Linked DNA regions of Homo sapiens: all the other regions are linked to region 1. Evidence: promoter capture Hi-C in 16 types of primary human blood cells and fetal thymus (Javierre and others, 2016). All regions are on one chromosome and are shown on one strand. The core of a region is centred on a gene start or on the middle of the fragment in contact, and the rest is flanking DNA. Distances in the headings are between cores, read along the strand shown. Region 1 holds the start of OR5T2 (olfactory receptor family 5 subfamily T member 2). Region 2 holds the start of OR8H3 (olfactory receptor family 8 subfamily H member 3). Region 3 holds the start of OR8K1 (olfactory receptor family 8 subfamily K member 1). Region 4 holds the start of OR8J3 (olfactory receptor family 8 subfamily J member 3). Region 5 holds the start of OR8K3 (olfactory receptor family 8 subfamily K member 3 (gene/pseudogene)).

Region 1 (4,259 bases), core at 775-3,274:
TGGTCCATGCCCAGAGATGAGCAAAGACAGACAGCCTGTGATGATAGAAGCAAGAAGAAGTCAGTCATGGCAGATTTCTCTTACTGTCATAATTTTGCGAAGGTGGTTTCAGAATTTCAGGATTGTATAGTAATCCTGTTTTTAATGTTTCAAGGAACTTCCATACTATTTTCAATCATGGCTGCACTGTTTTATATTCTTGTCAACAGTACACCAGGGTTCCAATTTCTCCACATTCTTATCAATACTTTTTTTTTTTAAATAATGGCCATAACAGGTGTGTGATGATATCTCATTGTGGTTTTGATCTGCAATAATTAAAATCTCCATATTACCCAAAGGGGTCTTCAGATTTAATGCATTTCCTGCAAAATCCTAGTGCTGGGTTTTACAGAAATAGAAAAAACATCGTAAAAATTATGTGCAATTACAAAAGACTTCAAATAGCCAAAGGAATCTTGAGAAAGAAAAACAAAGCTAGAGGTATTATACTTTTTTATTTCAATGATATTACAAAACTACAGTAATTAAATAGCATGGGACTGGAATAAGGACAGATATATAGACCAACGGAACAGAATAGGGAGCCTGGAAACAATCCCACATGTATATAGTCAAATGATCTTTCACAAGTGTGCCAAGAATACACAATGGGAAATTAAATTGGACCCTTGTCTTATACCATATAAAATAACCAACCCAAAATGGATTAAAAATTTAAACATAAAACCTGAAACTACAATTTCTAGAAGAAAACATAAGGAAAAACTTTAGGACCTTCAGCTTGGCAGTAACTTGTTGGATGTAACATAAAAATACAAGCAATGACATAAAAAGCCAAGTAACAAAACCAAAATTAGACAAGTAGGGCTACGTCAAAGTCAAAATCTTCTGCACAATGAAGAAAACCATCAGCCAAACAAAAAATATTTGTAAATGATATATCTAATAGGGGATTAATATCAAAATATATAAATTCAATAGCCACAATAACAATAATCTTATTTTAAAACTGGCAAAGGACTTGAATACATTTTTTTTCCAAAGAAGACATACAAATGGCCTTCAGATGTATGAAAAGATGTTCAACATCAGTAGTCATCAGGGAAATTCAAATCTGACACATTTTAAACAGAAGCCAAAGAACTCTATTGATTCAATAAGTAGGAGCATGCAGTGCCTTATTCCGGAATCATTTACTTTTTATTATTAAGTAAATCATCATGGTGCTATTTTGAAACAGAAGATAATTGGGGCATATTCCCCTTGGGACATCTCCTTGGATTTCATCAACAGTCAATTACAAAGATATAAACAATCTAAGTTAGCCATATTCATAGAATACCTAAATCTGCATTTGCTGTTCCACAGGTAAGAGAAAATTTCAGATAATTTGAAGAATATTTCGGCAGCTAGAACCTACAATATCAAGAATAACTATGTTTTTTTTTACTAAACTTTTTAGCTGCTAAACACCAAGAACTAAACACTTCAGTTCTGGACTATTACATATGTGAATCAAGTGTATTCATCAAAATATGATTTATTTAGAGTTATGCCTAAGAATTAAAATCCAACACTTACTAGAAAACAATAAAAAATAGAAAATATTGTATTTGTACTTATAGAGATAAATAAGAGTGCTCCTAATAGAGTATATGCTTGTATTTTTCTTATAGATAAAGATAGTTCAAAGGTCATGAATTTACCAATAAATATCAACAAAGGGCAAAAAAACATTTGACTTATTCATTTATCTGGGGTCTTGTATTTTGAAGTAATAAGGAAAACAATCAATACTTATTTTAAATTTATTTTCTGGCTTTATAATCTAGAAGTCACTTCAGATTGCTACTTATTTTATGTTTCTCTAGATTTAATGGCTTAAAAAATACAAATACATCGAGAATCATGTTTTGCTTTACCTTTATTTCCCTGAGGTCAGCAGAGGGGTAAGAGGAAGAGTGTTCCAGTTGCAGAATGAAGCCATTTATGAGGCCATGAAAAAATGCAAAAATTTCATGTACAATGAGAGAAACCTGGGATTGAATCTTGGCTCTGGAAATTGTTAGCTATGAAAGTTGCTATAAAGGTGAAATAAGGTAATGTACAAGAAATGTCTGTTCTTGCAGCAAGTGCTAAATAAATGCCTGTTATTTAGCAAACTTAGTGTTTCGTTATTACATTCACGATATTTAAAGTTTTCTCCCTTCCATTAAAATTTGTTTCATAAAAATAGATTTGCATTAATTTAAAAAGTTGATTCTATATTATTAAATCTTCAAGAATCATAGTGATTTTCTCTTTATAACTCTGAATCTTTGACTATGTGCTAATATTAACTTAATTTTTACCCAATATAACTTATTTTGGCATCTAGTAGAAATGCCTGTCTCACAAGAAATTTGGTTGAAGTATCTTATTTGCACAAAGCAAAATTAAGACAATTGTAATGTAGAAAATGGAATCATGGTAATTTGCATGTTTATTTTTGGCATAAAATGATCAAGTAATTCACAAAACTTCTTCATTCTCCAAAGAATAATTCAGAGACATTTGAATGAGCAGATGAAAAAAATCATAACTGTTCATTGGATTTAATCTTGATAGAATGTAGAACCAACTTAATTCAGCATATTCTATAATCAAAATTATTTTACATATTATATTTTATTAATGCAATTTTCCTTCAATATTTACTCCAATCTTGTGAACAAACTATTAATGTTCTCATTCTATAGACAAGTAGATATAGCAAATCATTTTGCACAATTGCTACAAGTTCTAAAATTCTGGTATTGTATTCCAATGCTCTGTCCCCTGATACAGTCTCTTGTGTATTTGGATGCCCAAAGATTGTTTAAGCCACTCATTTTTGTGTGTTTTAATATTATTTAATATATAAACAGCTTAATACAATTCAGTGGTAAATTAACCAGTAGACCTGATGATTTTAGAAACAGAATAAGTCCAGCCAACTAATGAACGTCCATTTCTTCCATTTGATTCTGCAGTGAGTGGCATGAACACATGGCTGACCAGTTTGTCACTGTCTTCTGATTCACTACTAGAGAATTATGCACTGCTGAATATATGTCGTACAGTATATACAAGAGCACAGTTAACATCCCCTTGAGTCATGGTGTTGTTCATTCTTTTTGTCATAATATGAACTGTAACTTTATGCATATCTTCAAGTTTGTTCTAGATTTCAACATGAAGAATGTCACTGAAGTTACCTTATTTGTACTGAAGGGCTTCACAGACAATCTTGAACTGCAGACTATCTTCTTCTTCCTGTTTCTAGCAATCTACCTCTTCACTCTCATGGGAAATTTAGGACTGATTTTAGTGGTCATTAGGGATTCCCAGCTCCACAAACCCATGTACTATTTTCTGAGTATGTTGTCTTCTGTGGATGCCTGCTATTCCTCAGTTATTACCCCAAATATGTTAGTAGATTTTACGACAAAGAATAAAGTCATTTCATTCCTTGGATGTGTAGCACAGGTGTTTCTTGCTTGTAGTTTTGGAACCACAGAATGCTTTCTCTTGGCTGCAATGGCTTATGATCGCTATGTAGCCATCTACAACCCTCTCCTGTATTCAGTGAGCATGTCACCCAGAGTCTACATGCCACTCATCAATGCTTCCTATGTTGCTGGCATTTTACATGCTACTATACATACAGTGGCTACATTTAGCCTATCCTTCTGTGGAGCCAATGAAATTAGGCGTGTCTTTTGTGATATCCCTCCTCTCCTTGCTATTTCTTATTCTGACACTCACACAAACCAGCTTCTACTCTTCTACTTTGTGGGCTCTATCGAGCTGGTCACTATCCTGATTGTTCTGATCTCCTATGGTTTGATTCTGTTGGCCATTCTGAAGATGTATTCTGCTGAAGGGAGGAGAAAAGTCTTCTCCACATGTGGAGCTCACCTAACTGGAGTGTCAATTTATTATGGGACAATCCTCTTCATGTATGTGAGACCAAGTTCCAGCTATGCTTCGGACCATGACATGATAGTGTCAATATTTTACACCATTGTGATTCCCTTGCTGAATCCCGTCATCTACAGTTTGAGGAACAAAGATGTAAAAGACTCAATGAAAAAAATGTTTGGGAAAAATCAGGTTATCAATAAAGTATATTTTCATACTAAAAAATAAATTATAAAAGGTGAGGGTGATACTCTGCACCTCAATACCAAGAATGTGTCATTGTGGTGTTATGATATATGTTGGTTTCCATCCAG
Region 2 (4,259 bases), core at 746-3,245, 110 kb after region 1:
GTAAATGAATACAGAAAGCTGAAAATCAGTATGTAGAAAGTGATAGAAATTTTTGTTTATATGCGTTATATATGTGCACGTATTTGAAACTATTGATCTAGAAGAACATGCACAAAACTCAATATTTGTTTTTCTAAAACTGAAAACGAGTTTATTAGAGAAGTAAATAAACAAAAGAATGGCTACTCCACAGGAAGAGCAGCCAAAACTCAATATTTGTAGAGGATTTCTATTTTCTTCAATATTTTATAATATTTTCAAATTTTCTCTAACATTATATTAATATAGGCTATTTTTTCTATAACATAATTCTACTGAAATATTTTACTTCTGAAATCCAAAATTGTGAGCTGCTGATTTTTGTTCTTTTTAGTTCTGTCAATTAAATTAACCAAAAGTAATTTGTGAAACACGAGTTTACATTCTTGAAAAAACGCACTGTGCAGTAATGTAGGTCTTCTAATGATAATGGGAAGCATTAATTATTATCGCTTTAAATACTCTACAACTACCCTCTGATCAGATTTGGAGTTATTTATCTTGCGCACTTAGGGAAAGGAGGCTTAAGCTTTAGGTAACATATTAATGGCTACACAGCTAAAAGTGTAGCATATTTAGAATCTAACTCTTGGAAAATTTTATTCCAAAGTAAGTACTCCTACCCACTCTGCTATGATTCTTCCCCACATAATAAATGGAATAACATCTAAAACTATTATCACCGTGTCTCAAATATTCTTTCCATAATAAATTTATCTACAGTTGAAGCATACATAAGAATTTGAATAATATAATTAAAAATGACAACCTTATTTTCTTATTTTCCACATCAGTTGCTTCAAAACATGACACACATATTATGATTCTAATTACCATTTGGATTTCTAAAAACATATGCCTTGAAATGTTTTAAATCATGTTTAGTCAAGCAAAGAGTAGCACAACAGAAATGCAAATAAATTAAAGGATTCAATTGTTTTTATAGAGAGACTAAGAAAATACCCAATAGGAATGAAAGAAAAGATGAGATTAAATGTTCCATTTCTGCTATTTTAACTACCTGGAGTCCTGTCTTCTCTGCATGACTCTAATGAGAGCATTTTTCACTTCTCTGTTTCTAAGACTATAAATGAGTGGATTCAGCATGGGAATCACAATAGTATAAAACACAGGAGCCACTTGATCTCTTCCCAAGGAATAAGACTTTCTTGGCTTTAAGTAAGTAAAAATCATAGTTCCATAGAAGATGGTGACTCCCAAGAGATGAGAGACGCAAGTAGAGAAAGCTTTCTGCTTTCCTGAAGTGGAATTAATTTTCAGGATGGTAGAGAGAATGGACACATAGGATGCAGATATTGTGATAAGGGACACCATCAGGGTGGAACCAGCGATAATGAATATCAGCATTTCAGTGTTGTCTGTGTCAGTGCAGGACAGAGCTAAAATTGGGGAAGTGTCACAGAAAAAGTGATGAATTATGTTTGAGTCACAGAAATGCAATCTGCTCATGGAAACCACATTGACAAAGGAGTCCATAAAGCCAATCACATAAGGCCCAGTGATGAGAGCGAGGCAGAGCCTTTTGGGCATAATAACTGTGTAGTGTAGAGGACTGCAGATCGCTGCATAGCGATCATAGGCCATTGAGGAGAGAAGATAACATTCAGCAGTACCCAAGAAGACAAAACAGAACATCTGGGCAAAGCAGCCCGTGAAGGAAATATAGTTGGAAGTCAGTAAGTTCGCTAAGGTTTTAGGTGTGACGACAGTTGAGTAACTGAGGTCAATAAATGACAGGTGAGTAAGGAAAAAATACATGGGAGTGTGAAGCTGGAGGTCCAGGCGGATTATCAATAGCATCCCCACATTCCCCAGCATAGTAATTAGGTATATGAGGAGAAATAGCATAAACAGAGCCATCTGGACCTCTTCAGAGTCTGACAGTCCCGTAAGGATGAAGTCAGCCACATTTGTGTCATTCCTTCTACCCATCATGTTCACCTGCTCTAAACTGCTGAGAAATCAAAGTTGATACGTAGCAGGGGCGCCTGTACTCCCAGCTACTGGAGAAGCTGAGGCAGGAGAATCGCTTGAACATGGGAGCCGGAGGTTGCAGTGAGCCAGAGGTTGCAGTGAGCTGGGATCACACTATTGCATTGCAGCCCCAGCAACTGTGCCAGACTCCGACTCAAAAAAAATAAACAAAACAATCAAAAAAAATTTCTGTTTATATGAATGACCTAGCATTTAATAATTAGTTTAACATTCTACAAATTGCTAATAAATTTATAGAATATGACTAAAGAGACTAATTTTATTGCCAATATAGATATAAGTTCAAATTAACATTTGCATATGTTATAATAAAATGTAGCATATTGCATAATTAGAATGAACCTGACATTGTTCTGAATGGCTTCCTTTATTAATATATTTAATCCACCTGAAAATATTATACCATAGATACTACTATTATCCACATAGTTTAGGTGAGGGAAAAAAAGAGTATGGAAGGTTGGAGTAACTTATCCAAAGTCAGATCAATTCAATGTTGACACTGATTCTACAAAGATATATTCCTTCAGAGAGAAGGCTTATAATACTACAATCTTGTTTATAAATAATTTCAGAAAACTTGAGAAAAGAGGTGGACATGTAATAAAAAATGAGAGGAAACAGTTTTATTATATAATTTACTGCCCTTTTGTTTCCAATATTATTTAATAATAATTTTCAATAAATTTCACCCTTGGGGTTTTTAGTCAGGTACATTAAAATTATAGACAATATATAAGTATTAATTTATAAAAGATGTGATGTTTTCCTGACATAACTAATCAAAATCTAATTTCTTCCAAAAAATTATATTTTCAAAATGTATACTTTGCTTGTAGACTCTGATTCTGGCAACTCTACATTTGTCTCACAAACCCTGACATTACTTAGGGTAGAGAGTAAATGATATGTGTATATATTAATATATACATTAATATATATTAATATATTATTCTGCGAAAGTCCCCATTTTATTTCATCTGAAGTAAAATGTGAAACAAAATCTTCCAATTTTGAGAATAATACTTACTGTGTGTAAGTCAACATTCATGAAAAAACTTTCTTCTTATATTATCTGTATGGAAATTTGTCAACTTCAAATTTTTGTTATAAATAAAATAAGAAAACTATTTAAGGAGATGAAAATTTTTATAATATTTGTTTTCCTTGAGATAAGTTGTTTTTACATTTTGGTGCATTCATTATGTTTTATTCTGAGTTATGATAAACCAATCTAGAAATTTTGTTTAGGTTCTGGTCTAATGGAAAGATTACCAAGAAGTTATGTGTCAAAGAAGACCGGCAGCCACTGTGACCATAAGGAGATTATTCTTTCCCTCTCACTCGGATAATTCCAGAGGATCTCATATACCAGAGGCTGATGACAATGCACCTTTTGGTAGGCCCTGGGGGCCATTTGCCAAGGCAGATTGTTTGGCATGTTTCCAAGCACAAAAGTTCAAGGACTAAATGTAGCCATGTTAGGCTTTGTGCAAAGATTTTCCTTTTTACCTTAGAAGCCACACAAATGAAGGAAATTATGAATTGGTCTTTTCTTGTGATGTTCTCAATATTTTACAGGCGTGGTGGAGAAGGCATTTCCAGAAAAAATAGTTACTCTGTGACTGACATCATCAAAGATGGAATAATACATTTTTCACAATTAAATTTCTTAATATTTAAAAGTGCGATACTATCGTATATGTAAACCATGTTAATTGGAAAAGAATCAGAAGATAACAAAATTCAAAAAAAGTAAATGAAAACAATTCAAAACTGTCGTTAACATTTTGTTAACATTATAATTTTTCCTAATTATTTTCCTTTGTGCCTTATTTGTACATGTACTTATAGATGGCATAACAATTATTGTACTATACAGTCAGTGTCTTTTGCTCATTTAATAACCAAAATTTTATGCTATGCCATGAGCTATCTTATATTAACCTTTTATCAACCACACAATTCTACGGTTCATGTATTGGTTAGTGCCCCGTAACTTACTAAGTTAACTATGTGTTTACGAGCTGATAAACAGACATTTTGAAGCATTATCAGAAAGTGGTGTAGGTTATTCATTCTGGTGTGGTGGTGTCACCTAATTCATCTACATGCAATATTTGTGCACTATGTTTTGCTGTTTTCATGTACTTTTTAAAATTTTATGAAACAAAAGTGAGAGCAGAAAAACAAAATCAGCCATG
Region 3 (4,259 bases), core at 786-3,285, 110 kb before region 1:
AAGGAGACAAAGAAGACAGGAATGAAGATGAAACTAACCCTCGAGTGTGTAAGTTTTTTTAATCTGTGTTATTATCTCCATACATTTTTCAAAATTCTATATTGCTACCATTACAGTAGATGACGAGATAACTTATTTATCTTCAGGTTGCCAATTCTAAATCAGCTTATCAGGAAGTTCTCATAAACCAGTGTTTGCAATAGTGCTAGAATCTGTCAAGGAGGATCTAGAATAATCCAATATTTTTCTCATCATTCCTAATCAAAAACCTACTTTATCCCTAAGATATACAATACTAACTTCATCTGATTGAAAAACCTCATTCTGAGATAGCATACTTTATTGTGTTCTTAGCTTTAATGTTTACACAGCCTTTTCTTTTCTTTCTTTTCTTTTTTTTTTTTTTTTGAGATGGAGTCAGGCTCTGTCGCCCAGGCTGGAGAGTGCAGTGGCGTGATCTCAGCTCACTGCAACCTCCGCCTCCCGGGTTCAAGCAATTCTCCTGTCTCAGTCTCCCGAATAGCTGGGACTATAGGTGAATGCTACTGTGCCTGGCTAATTTTTGTATTTTCAGTAGAGACGGGGTTTCACCAAGTTGGTCAGGCTAAATAAACAGCCTTTTCATGTTATGTTATAATCACATATTTACTTACTTTCTTGCTTCCTATCTAGCCTACATGTTCTCTATGGTTCAATCTTATTTACATTTAATACCTAGTGCCTGCTGGGAAATATCTATTACTAATTTTCCGGTTATTTTTACTCTGTTTGAACTATATAAGCTTTTCATTTTAACTCTGCAACTCTAAGTTTGACATAATTTGCCTTATTTATAAATAGTAGCGGTTCCAGTATGATTTCGAAAATTGCTTAGGACATATATTACCTGAATATAGTATTTATTTATTCCATTGAGGTGGCAAAGAGTACAGGTTGCTCTAAGAGGACATGTTTTGTCCAGAAAAAGAGGAAAATCTAAGCAGATAGAGTATTTCTACTTTTTTTATGTTATAATTGGTTTGACAGAGTACTAAACAGATTATTGTACCCAACTATGCAACTGAGTATTAAGATATTAAATGGGAATTTTGAATCGATTGGTTAAAGTTCTCTTTAGAGCATCTTTTACTTCTTTGTTCCTTAGGCTGTAGATCAACGGATTCAGCATAGGAATCAACAGGGTATAAAACACTGAGGCCATTTTATCAATAGCCAAAGTATGACTGGACTTGGGTTGCAAGTAAATAAATAACAATGTCCCATAGAACATGATCACCACTGTCAGATGAGAGCTACAGGTGGAGAAGGCTTTGTACCTCCCTTTCCTTGAGTTCATTCTGAGAATGGCCACTAGAATAAACATGTAGGATATGAGAACAATTGAGAGGGAGAAGAGCAAATTACAGCCTGAGAAGATCAAAATTATTAATTCTAATTCATTTGTGTCAGAACAGAGTATGGACATCAGAGGGATACAGTCACAGTAAAAATAGCTGATTATGTTTGAGCCACAGAAGGACAGTTTAAATAACTTAATTGTGAGAAATAGTGACACAAACGTGCTATAGAGATAGGGAACAATTACCAGCACCCAAAGTACTTTCTCTGCCATGATGATCACGTACAGAAGAGGTTTACAGATGGCTACGTAGCGATCATAGGCCATTGCTGATAGAATAAAGAGCTCAGAGATGATGAAAATCTCAAAGAATGCTAGCTGAGTGGCATACCAATTGTAAGAAATTGTGTTTTTGTGCACTATGAAGTTTACTAACATCTTCGGGGCAATGACAGTGGAGTAACCAAGATCAGTGATTGACAAATGTCTAAGGAAAAAGTACATGGGGGTGTGTAGCTTGGAGTCCAAGTAGGTCAAGATAACCATGCCCAGATTGCCTATCACTGTGACCAGATATATGATGAGGAAGAGTCCAAACAGTGGAGCCTGCAGCCCAGGGTTGTCTGTAATCCCCATGAGAATAAATTCAGTCACCTTGGTCACTGCCGTGTGATTGTGTTTTACCACATGATTCATCTTGGTAACTGTGCAAACTAGAAAATCAATATTTATTATATTTGAAACATTATCTTCTAAGAAAATTAACAATTTGATGTATGAGCAATAGAGGTATTTCCTTTATTTCAAATTCTAAATAGAGTCTCCTCTTCCCATCAGGTCAAAACCACACAAAGCTACAGTCACATTCATTAAAACTGTGGTAAAGTATAATTAAAAGGGGCAAGATATTTTGAAGTTGTTGTTTTGATGTAGCTACTATGACCTACTTTTTGGACCCAGAGTCATTTTAATTATGTAAAAATAGCTACCACTTTTGTTTCTGCTTACCACAATTTTCAGGTAATTTGTAAAACAAACATCTATACATTAAACTTTACATTTTTGCTGATCATTGAAAGAAGCAAGACAAGATTTTCAAAACTATAGATGGAGTAATGAATAGGGCAGTAGGAAATCTCTGATCATTATATACATGTCAATACTTCTGTCTATAAATTCAACTTGTTTACCAAAAACAAAATTTTATGCCATAATTTGAGAATTTTGTTAATAATATCTTAATCTGCATTTGAACTTTTTGCCTATTGAATTGCTGCTTCTAGTGAGCAATTGGGGGGATGTATAATCCCCCAATTATACATCCTTCTGCAGGAAAAAAAAAATCTGGCTGTTCTTACAATTCATGAACATTTAAGAGAGAATCATAAAAAAGGGCTCAGTGGATAGAGAAACACAAATGAATATCAAGAACCTAAGCAAATCCATAGCATGCTAGGCAATTTTGCAAGTGCTTTACACATATTAACTCATATGATCTACACAATAACTTTAGGAAGTAGGCAGTAATATCATCCCCATTTAAAAGAAAAAGAAACTGAGGCACAAAGAGTTGGATAATTTAACAAAGATCTTTCACATTATAAGTTGTAGTGTAAGGATTCAAGTAAAGCCATTCTGCCTTCAGAATATGTTCTCATAAACACTCTAACACACCACTTCTCCATTAGGGATACCCTTCATTGTTAGGAAGTGAGAATGAGACAGGAAAGACACAAGGTAAATAATGATAAAGATCTTTGTTAAAATAGATGACTGAAGCATGAAGTAATTTGAAAGCTAAGGTGGCATAAATAATGACCAGCCTCGAGTATTGGAGACTGTATAACAGGTCTGTCTGCACATCTGTCCTATTGATGACAGAACAGTATATTGCAAGGGAGGCAACAGTTTTGCAGAGAATGGGACCCTTCCAGATTTTTGGTGACAACCTGCTTTAAGGATGTACCCTTAGAAATTTTCTAAGACCAATGTTTCCGCTTACCTCAATGGAGAATTTGCTTTGCTTTCTACTGCTTTAGGCCTCATAGGTGGCTACCGAATGGATTTAAATTTTTTCTCCTCCCTTGAGACTCATTGTGTTGAAATGTTAATCTGACCCAAGGTTAAACAAATTCTACGTAATTACCTGAGGGAAAGTGCCTTGAATATCTGTTGATTATTCTCCGAATGTTCCATTAAGAAAAAGTCGTAAATACTTATGCCTTTGTCTAACTGAAAAAATAAATTATGCAATATCACTAAAGACTGGAAATCACAAATGCCATTTTCAGCATTGCATGCAAATATTACATATATAATCCCCAACAAGTCACAAGTAAGTGAAATAATGACTTTCTTGAAAAAAGTTATATAATATTTGATAATACATCCATTGACCACATATATTTTGTTGAATATATGATTATAAACTGACATAAAACAATTTCTTATAAACTATATTAAGCTGAGAGAAGATAATATTTTATTAATTGTATTGTTTATGTCAAGAAATCAGTGGCAAATAATTTCTTCATTTGTTTATGATGTATCATTTATCTCTGGCTGTTTTTAAGAATTTTTCTTTGTTATTGGTTTTCAGAAATTTGACTATAATGCATTTTAGCATAATTTCCTTTCAATTTACCCTACTTGGAATTATTTTAGCTTTTTGTATGTCTAGGATTTTGGTTTTTTTTAAATACATTTAGAAGAAAATTCTGGCCAATATTTTTTACTGTGTATTTTCTGCACTATATAATCTCTTCTTTACACTTAGACTTAAAATTAAACATGACTTAAATAACTTGTTATTGTTCTACAAATCACTAAGACTATTTTCATGGTTTTCGTTCAGTATATTTTTACTCTGGCTTTATTTTCAGTAGTCTTCATTGTTGACTGTTTAAGTCATCTTTTGTTC
Region 4 (4,259 bases), core at 1,253-3,752, 94 kb after region 1:
CTACTTTTTGATATGGATAAATGGCCTCCTTGTTCTACACTTTAATGATCCTCAGGTTTAACCTCTTGATCTACAGCTTTAGCAACTTAGGGGTTAAAAATGTCTTTTATAGAGTCTTTAAGAATTAGTGCAAACTTTGTCTTTACAGTACACTATGGAACATTGTTCCAATAAATTATGAGAAAATATTTATCACTTGATAGTGTTTCTAATAGATATAATTACATTCTTTATGACTCTACAAAAAGAACCATTTTAACACTTCAAAAATAGATTGTTCTCATTATAATCAGCCAATTAACCCTCATATTATAGAATTCAATTAAAATACCACTTCCTTCGAAAATGTCTTTCTTCTGATTTACTATTTTCTTTAGTGATCTCATACCTTATATTCTACCAGTGGAACACACATTAAGCTACATTTTAGTAAGCTATATCTTTATTTTGTAGGGGTTTTGCCTTTTTTTAAAATAGGATGTACATTCTCAATCTTGTTTTCATTTTATTTAAACAAAGTGAGTCAGACTCATGCAGATAGCATATATTTGGATCACGTGGTTTTTTTGGTTTGTTTAATTTATTCTGTCAATTTCTTTCTTTTAATTGGAGAATGTAATCCATGTCCATTTAAAGTTATCACAGATAATGGAGAACATCCTTTTGGCATATTGCTATTTGTTTCCTATAGGTCCTATCCTTATTGTTGGTCATCCTTTCCTCCATAAGTTTTCTTGAGATTTTGGCTGAACCCTAGACTTGTGCATGACATAAAGCTGTTAAAAGAATGACCAGGAAATTGTGTGCTGAAACATTTCATAGAAACTACACAGGGCAGGAAGACATTAGAATTCTAAAAAGTCATAGTGGAAAGTCCTTTTACAAGACATAGACATCCAGTAGAAATCTCAGGAACAAAGCTATTTTAAACCCCTTTGCCAGCTTGAAAACAAGTCTCGAATAGAGTCAACTGATAACTGACAGCACGACAAGGTGACTAAAGTCAATAATTACTTGTACATTTTAAAACATTTATCATTCTTTTAGGAAAACAAATTAAAATAAAACACAGCAATTATTCTTATAAAATTTACAATATTCAACATCCAATCACAAATTCTAGTCCTATGAGAAAGCAGCAGTGTGCAACCTTCAAAATGTTATTATAGATGTTGGATATACTGAATGATTTAGCACAAATACCAACACTGTGAGAAATAAATGAAAATACAATATTACATATGAACAAATATTTATTGAGTAAAAAACATACACTGAAAAAGAAAAGATGTGACTTGTCACAATAGACACTCAAAATGAAGCCAGAGAGAAACATAATACTAAAAACAAAACCCACTGAAACAGTCTCAGTCAACTATAGAACAATAACAAGATACCTACCACATGTTTAATTATAAGGTCTAAGTGGAAAGAAAAAACTATATTATAGGACAAGAAACAGGGAAAAAGATGTTGGCCAGAATTTCTAAGTTTATTTTTTAATAATGATGAAGATACAACAGGATAAAATAACTCCAAGCAAAATAAACAGAAAGAAAATGATGCCAAAGTGCTTCACCATCAATTATAAAAAATTTAATTATAAAAAATTATAAAAAATTCTTCAAAATTGCTAGTGATAAAAGATATAAACGAATGAAGAAATGTTTACCACTGATACATTGGCAGAAAAAATAAAAGTCATGACACTATGACACTTTCTTTGTTTTTTTTTTTTTTTTTTTGAGACTGAGTCTCCCTCTGTTGCCCAGGCTGGAGTGCAGTGGTGCCGTCTCGGCTCACTGCAAGCTCTGCCTCCTGAATTCACGCCATTCTCCTGCCTCAGCCTCCCAAGTCGCTGGGACTACAGGCGCCCGCCACCACGCAAGGCTATTTTTTTTATTTTTAGTAGAGACGGGGTTTCACCATGTTAGCCAGGATGGTCTCGATCTCCTGACCTCGTGATCCGCCCGCCTTGGCCTCCCAAAGTGCTGGGATATCAGGCGTGAGCCACCGCGCCCGGCCAAAGTCATGACACTTTCTTATGTCAACCAATAACTATATGTCTGGTAGAATTATACCATAATCACCAAAAGTATTCTTTGTCAATGGATGTTGTATTATCAAATTTTGCATGTTTTTTTCTAGAAAATTTTTTCTCATTTACTAACAAATTGCATATATGGGTGTCTGTGTGTGGTATACTTAATATGAGCAAAATACTGTGTAACCAAAATGCTGACAAAGTCATATTTATAATTTCCTGTGTTTAGTCATATTGCATAATTCAATTATTCAGTTAGACTGAAACATAAAATATTATGACTTTTTCTAATGGAAAATTCTGAGAATAATTAACAAATATCCAAGGCACTCTCCCTCAGGTAATTATGTACAATTTTTTATCCTTGAATCAGATTGAAACTTCAACTAAATGAGTCTCAAGGGTTTTAGAAAAAAACCTTAAATCTATTCTGTAGCCACCTGTGAGGGCTAAAGAAGTAGAAAGCAAAGCAGATTCTCTGTTGAAGTAAGTAGAAACATTGATCATTGACAATTTTCAAGGGCAGAGTTTAAACTAGGTTATCACCAAAGATGTTGAAGGCCCCTATACTCTGCAAAACTATTTCCTCCCTTGCAATATAGGGCTATTAACTTAATGTTTCATGCTTTTCAACTATTTTTAACAAGGATCTTTGTCTATCATTATTTACCTAGTGCCCCTCCTGTCCTATTCTCATTTCCTATCTATGCACGTTACAGCATTTATAAGAACATATTCTAAAGGCAGGATAACTTTATCTGAATGAAGAACAGATGTGGCATAGGCCATATTTTTTCCCAGATACGCATTTTCAAGAAATTAATTCTTGCCTGGAATCCTGGAATGCCCTTCCTGTGACTGATTAAATAGCTAATTCCTTCTCCACCTTTAGGTTTCAATTCAAATGCCACCTTCTCAGAAGAGCCTTCCTTGTAAAAGTATTAATATTAATATTCTATGTGATAGTACTCTCCCAGGTTATCCTAGTATATTATCTTGTTTGTTTTACCTATTATGCTTATTTAAATCTGCAATTATTGTGTTTATATGCCTTCTTAACAGATTTTTCTCTTCCCTATCATTACAATAACATATTCACGATCTGAGGGTCAGGTAATTTATCTGAAGCTCGAACATAGCCTGGAACAAAGTAGAATTTTAATAAATATGTGGAAAATAAGAGGATAATTCACAGAACCCACAGGAAAAATTTATGCTTGGTATCATCAAACAAACTGGTACCAGATATCCAACAACGTTAGGAGTCATTTTGGTGTTATTTCTCTGTTTTCTTTTTTTAAGTAGTCACTTCTTTATTTTTTCTCACTGTAGAATAATCATTTGTTTCTCTTTCTATTCTATCTCTTTTAGAAGGAGAGAAACTGAATAGCTCTGGGCTTTTAAAATTCAGATCTGTGTGATAATATATTCTTAACTTTCTGGAACTTAATTGTGAACTTTAAAATAAAGAACTATATGATAAGACTTATTTGGACCAGGTGCCCACCACTGGAACTATCAATTGTGACTCCAACAGGACATGAATTCACTTAGTTAGGGGCAAATAATCATGATTAAAATATACAACTCTAGGAAAGTGTTCATCCATACTAAAATAGCACGCTGAATCTATGGCAAATACATGCAACATAATTATCATAAAAACCCTCAAAATGAAGGTGTTTATTCCTGTTACAATAATATAAATATCAAAAAACGTAAAAAAAACAGATCAGCTAAAATTAAGAGCAGGTGTATTGTGTAAATTTAAGAAATATAACATTTTATAAACAAAAAATTGAATTAAAAGAAAAATCATGAAAAAAACACGGAGTATTGTACGAACTTTTAGCACAAGGAAAAGAATAGTCATGAGAGGGAAGAAATAGAAAGTAGTACCCAGGAAAGCATAATGTTGAGGAATTACAAAAATGATAAAAATCTTACTGATTTTTTTTTTTTTTTGAGACGGAGTCTCGCTCTGTCGCCCAGGCTGGAGTGCAGTGGCGCAATCTCGGCTCACTGGCGCAATCTCGGCTCACTGCAAGCTCCGCCTCCAGGGTCCACGCCATTCTCCTGCCTCAGCCTCCCGAGTAGCTGGGACTACAGGCGCCCGCCACGACGCACGGCTAATTATTTTTTTTTGTTTGTTTGTTTGTAGAAAGGGGTTTCACTGTGTTAGCCAGGGTGGTCTCCATCTCCTGACCTCATGATC
Region 5 (4,259 bases), core at 815-3,314, 81 kb before region 1:
TTGTTTTAATTGTGACAATGCCTTACTTGAAAGAGGTTTTTTTTACATGTGTACACATACATTATTCTGACTATGAATTAACTTCTTTGTTAGGACCATAATGATGCCTAGGGGAGTCACAGGTCAAGTAGGATGTAATACTTGCAACTTAGGGCAGTTCTTCTCCCCTCCCCCAATTCATGACTAAACTTGGGTAATTGGTATGCTATTGTTTTGGATTACTTATCTATTTTTCACAACGAATTTAATAACATTTTAAATAAATTATTTTTATATAAACTTTATTAAAACATTAATCTTCCCATAGTTTTATTCTCAATATAATTGAGAAATGCTAACTTGAATGTGAACGTTAAGTTTGTTTTATCATACAAAATCTTAGGGGAGTTTGAGGAAATCTGAACAAATTGGGAGAAAATGTGGTCCTTCATATTGGTTTTGTATAATGAAAATTAGTAAAAGCTACTTTTTGGGTAAAAGGATACTGTAGATTAAAGAAATGATTAAAAGTCACCTTGTTACACAATAACATAGAGACAAAATGAATACACTAAACATGAGATATACGTGGATTTCTGGCTGTGATTTAAAACTTTTCTGAACATGCAAGCCACAGAAACTAGGAAATATGGTATAGCACATAATACAAATTAACATATGTATAATCGAATAAATATATATCTAAATATCCCCCAATAACCCACAGATTTAAAATATAGTAGAGCAGGAGATGGAGGGCATGATAACCTAAGATAATCATTATTAGTTAAAAAAAATCGTAAGCCCCAATGTTTTTTGAAAAAAGAAAAGAAAGAAAATAGTTTTTACAATGAAAATTATAGTGACAGCAATCTCAGAGTGAGCTATGAAAAAATAAAGACAAGCAATTGTGTTACATTAAATATAAAGATGATTACATATTATTTGAACTTAATTTTTTAAATAAAATTATGACCTACTCCTATCCTACCCTGACTCAATGAACACACCTTTCTCATATTAGATATATGGTAATGTGTGGCAGTAGATGGAAAAGTTAGATAAATATCTTTAGTAAATAAGATGATGAGCAGCATAAATCCTGTATTTTGTTTGCTTGTTTTGTACAGTTTGGCAATTTAGAAAGGCAAATAATATCATGGATAAGTACCTGTTTTCTTGTTAGGTAAGGAAATATAAATGAGGTTCCTTTCACCATCTTTGGAGTTCTGTGGAAAGAACCAGATTGCTTTTTTTCATATTTTGCTGTCTTTGTTGAATATCAATTGCATTTTTTAAAGCTACAATCTTTGAGAAAATAATATCTGCTTTTGTCAACTCTTAGTGGAAATTGAAGTACTTTCTGAAAATTGTATTGTTCCCTAAAACTGGGTACTTAACAGTCTCCTAATTTTATTTTCTTCTATTTTAAAATGTTTTTTTTTTCTGTGCCTATGATTACCCAAAAAGCCTCATAATTTTTAATAATGCTTTTCACATTCGAATGTAAGGTAGCAACCCCCTTTTTGACTCACCAAGCAGTGAGAAAACAATCATATCTACACATTTATTTGAATAATCATTCAGTGTTAAATTATTGTTAAGGGGTCTGAGAGCCTAGAGCATCTAAATAACAAGTATTTGGAAGGACATGAACATGACTGACCAAATAGTTGCAGTTTCTCCATTCTTTCATTAAAAATATATTTATCTCCTTGTCATTGTGCTTTATTTTCTCCAAGTTTTGGCCTCAATTAGAGAAAAATATGTAAAATGAATACTTTAGAAACAATATCATGATAATGTTTCAAAGATGCTTATAGCATTCAGCCTGTGAAACCATGTAAAATACTTAAAAAGCATATGAAAAATGGAGCACCGTTATTTCTGCTTAGGCATTATTGAGTAACAGAAATCCCGGAGAAATGAATCAGAAATTGTCACACTTTACTATGGTTATGTCATCAAATTAAAGTGGCAGTTTTCCAATGTCACTGAAGCATTATAGATATCTGTAACATATGACACCACAAGAAACATTCTTACTTTTTTTTTTTTTACCTGTAAGGAAGCCTCTGTCTTGACTCCTCCATGTGTCTCTCACATGGCACAGTGAGAACAATTTATGCATTTTTTAATCTTTTGAGACTCTCCCTGAGGAGATGGCAGGCAATTTATTGATAATTCCTAAAGCATTTGAGAGCATAACAAAATGTTTGAGGCTGTCCATTAGTTGTAGAAGACAGTTTGTATTCACTAGTGTATCAGAGTTCTCCAGAAAAACAGTACTAAGAAGAGATAGTTAGATGAGAGATGATAGATAGATAGATAGATGATAGATAGATAGATAGATAGATAGATAGATAGATAGATAATAGAGATTTATTATGAATTGTTTTATGCAATTATGTAGGCTGAGGATTCCTGTGATTTGCTGTCTGCAAACTTCAAGAAAGCTGGTGGTATAGATTCAGTTCAAACTTGAAATATTGGGAGCCAGGGGAGCCAAGGGTGTACATCATAGTCTGAATTCGAAGGCTCTGGAATCTGGGATGTCAATGTCTGATGGCAGGAAGCGAAGGATGTCCTAGCTTAAGCAGGGAGTGAACTCACCCTTCCTCTGTCTTTTTGTTTTATTCAAGGCCTCAATTGATTGCACTGATACCCACCTATATTGGTGAGGATGATAGTTACTCTGTCTAACAATCGTAGTCTCTTCCAGGAGTATCCTCACAGGCACACCCAGAAATAATGTTTGCCAGCTATCTGGGCATCATATAGCCTAGTTAAGTCAACACTTTAATCGTCATTACTCCACCCCTTGTCAGCTTGGCAAACATAAGCATGTACTTAAACCATACTTAGTCTCTCTAAACATAGACAATAACAAGGTCATAGTTTTGCTTTACATGACACAACTATCCGGCATATAAATAAAAACTCACTAATCCTTTATTCCAATCAGGACATATATTCTTTGAGTGATACTGACTCTTCTCCTGATTTTCTCAGAGTAAAATTCTACAGTGTAAAAGTAACAATATTTAAATATTGATGTAAAGTCCATATATCATATTTATATAATAAGGTAATAAAAAATGGAATAAAGCATCTTAATAAATACACAGACATATTTATAATAAAATTAGGATGGAATTCTCATTACAATTACAGTCCTCATTTCTGAACTGGCCACATGATTATAGCTGGTATTTATAACCGTCTTCTTCTTCTTTCCATACTCTATTCCTTTTGTCTTTAGCAAGCACCTTAGTTGGCCATGGTTCTTTTTTCCTTGTGAAGTGGCCCAAACCTTTATTCCTGAAGAATGTGGGCCATTAGTAGTTCTGGCTAGTTTGGGCTATTACAGTTTTCCGTATATTATTATTACAGTTTTTCTTATTAATAAAAGATGTCCTAAGGAATGTCCCATATTCCAGGCTTATTCTTCCTTGTATTGTGAAGTAATAGCCCAATTTCCCCTGGAAAGTCAGGATCAAGTGTGATAACTTCCTGTTTTGTCTATTGATTCAGTTGCATGAGGAGCTCAAAATGGCTGGGTAAGAGTCTTAACTTCCAATTCAATAGAATTATTGCTATTTCTCTAGGTGGAAGCATTCATTCCTCTGTGACTAAGACCTGTAGGTCAGTAAAGCTTAAAGTCAATGGAGCAGGAAGCAGAAATTTTGACAGTGGGTCACTAGGGTTAATAGTGAGTGGTGTCTTGAATGTTAAATGACGAGTTAATGGGTGCAACACACCAACATGGCACATGTATACATATGTAACTAACCTGCACATTGCGCACATGTACCCTAAAACTTAAAGGATAATAAAAAAATTAAAAAATTAAAAAAAATAGTGAGTGGTGTCACTCATACTTCCATCTCTTCATTCCTAGGCTACTAGATCCAGTCTATGGCAAAAAAACAGCACAATATACTGGAGACTAATTCAAAGCATATATAGCTTTCTTGCAAACTTTTCCCCAGCTATTCAAATTATTGCCATCTAGCTGAATTGTAATTAAAATTTCAAAGCCAGTTTCTTTGGGATGTTGGGCAGCATGGTGAGTATGACTAGTGAATTCCATGATCATGGACACATTGCTGCACTTCTTTATCTGTGAAGTGAGTTTCTTGATATATGTAATGCCATGTGGAATATCATGATGGTACATAAGGCATTCTATAACTTGGAAGGTAGTTTTGGCAGAATTGCTTGCAGAGAAGGAAAATCTGTATCCAGAGTAAGTATATATTGCACTAAGAACAAAATGC

What was found. Contacts are between HindIII fragments. The CHiCAGO score rates a contact against its expected background, and 5 or more counts as called.
Region 2: the fragment with the promoter of OR8H3 here is called in contact with the fragment with the promoter of OR5T2 in region 1 in 4 of 17 cell types (neutrophils, monocytes, total CD4 T cells and 1 more); the score reaches 10.1 in neutrophils.
Region 3: a contact is called between the fragment with the promoter of OR8K1 here and the fragment with the promoter of OR5T2 in region 1, in 1 of 17 cell types (neutrophils). The highest score is 6.9, in neutrophils.
Region 4: a contact is called between the fragment with the promoter of OR8J3 here and the fragment with the promoter of OR5T2 in region 1, in 13 of 17 cell types (neutrophils, total CD4 T cells, fetal thymus and 10 more). The highest score is 17.6, in neutrophils.
Region 5: a contact is called between the fragment with the promoter of OR8K3 here and the fragment with the promoter of OR5T2 in region 1, in 7 of 17 cell types (neutrophils, naive CD8 T cells, total CD4 T cells and 4 more). The highest score is 12.1, in neutrophils.

Annotation. Positions count from the first base shown.
Region 1 is chr11:56,232,020-56,236,278 of GRCh38, reverse strand. It overlaps OR5T2 (olfactory receptor family 5 subfamily T member 2), which reads left to right and starts at 2,024. Exons shown (of 2, transcript NM_001004746.4): 1 at 2,024-2,102; 2 at 3,015-4,259. The coding sequence starts at 3,217. The coding sequence ends at 4,173. The HindIII fragment of the contact is 5,726 bases long and covers 1-4,259 here.
Region 2 is chr11:56,120,109-56,124,367 of GRCh38, reverse strand. OR8H3 (olfactory receptor family 8 subfamily H member 3) reads right to left here and starts at 1,995. Exons shown (of 1, transcript NM_001005201.1): 1 at 1,057-1,995. The coding sequence starts at 1,995. The coding sequence ends at 1,057. The HindIII fragment of the contact is 10,899 bases long and covers 1,289-4,259 here.
Region 3 is chr11:56,343,815-56,348,073 of GRCh38, reverse strand. OR8K1 (olfactory receptor family 8 subfamily K member 1) reads right to left here and starts at 2,035. Exons shown (of 1, transcript NM_001002907.1): 1 at 1,076-2,035. The coding sequence starts at 2,035. The coding sequence ends at 1,076. The HindIII fragment of the contact is 5,993 bases long and covers 785-4,259 here.
Region 4 is chr11:56,138,444-56,142,702 of GRCh38, reverse strand. It overlaps OR8J3 (olfactory receptor family 8 subfamily J member 3), which reads left to right and starts at 2,502. Exons shown (of 2, transcript NM_001004064.2): 1 at 2,502-2,530; 2 at 4,206-4,259. It also overlaps the pseudogene OR8K4P. The HindIII fragment of the contact is 14,492 bases long and covers 1-4,259 here.
Region 5 is chr11:56,312,949-56,317,207 of GRCh38, reverse strand. It overlaps OR8K3 (olfactory receptor family 8 subfamily K member 3 (gene/pseudogene)), which reads right to left and starts at 2,064. Exons shown (of 3, transcript NM_001005202.2): 1 at 2,041-2,064; 2 at 1,151-1,208. The HindIII fragment of the contact is 10,208 bases long and covers 1-3,636 here.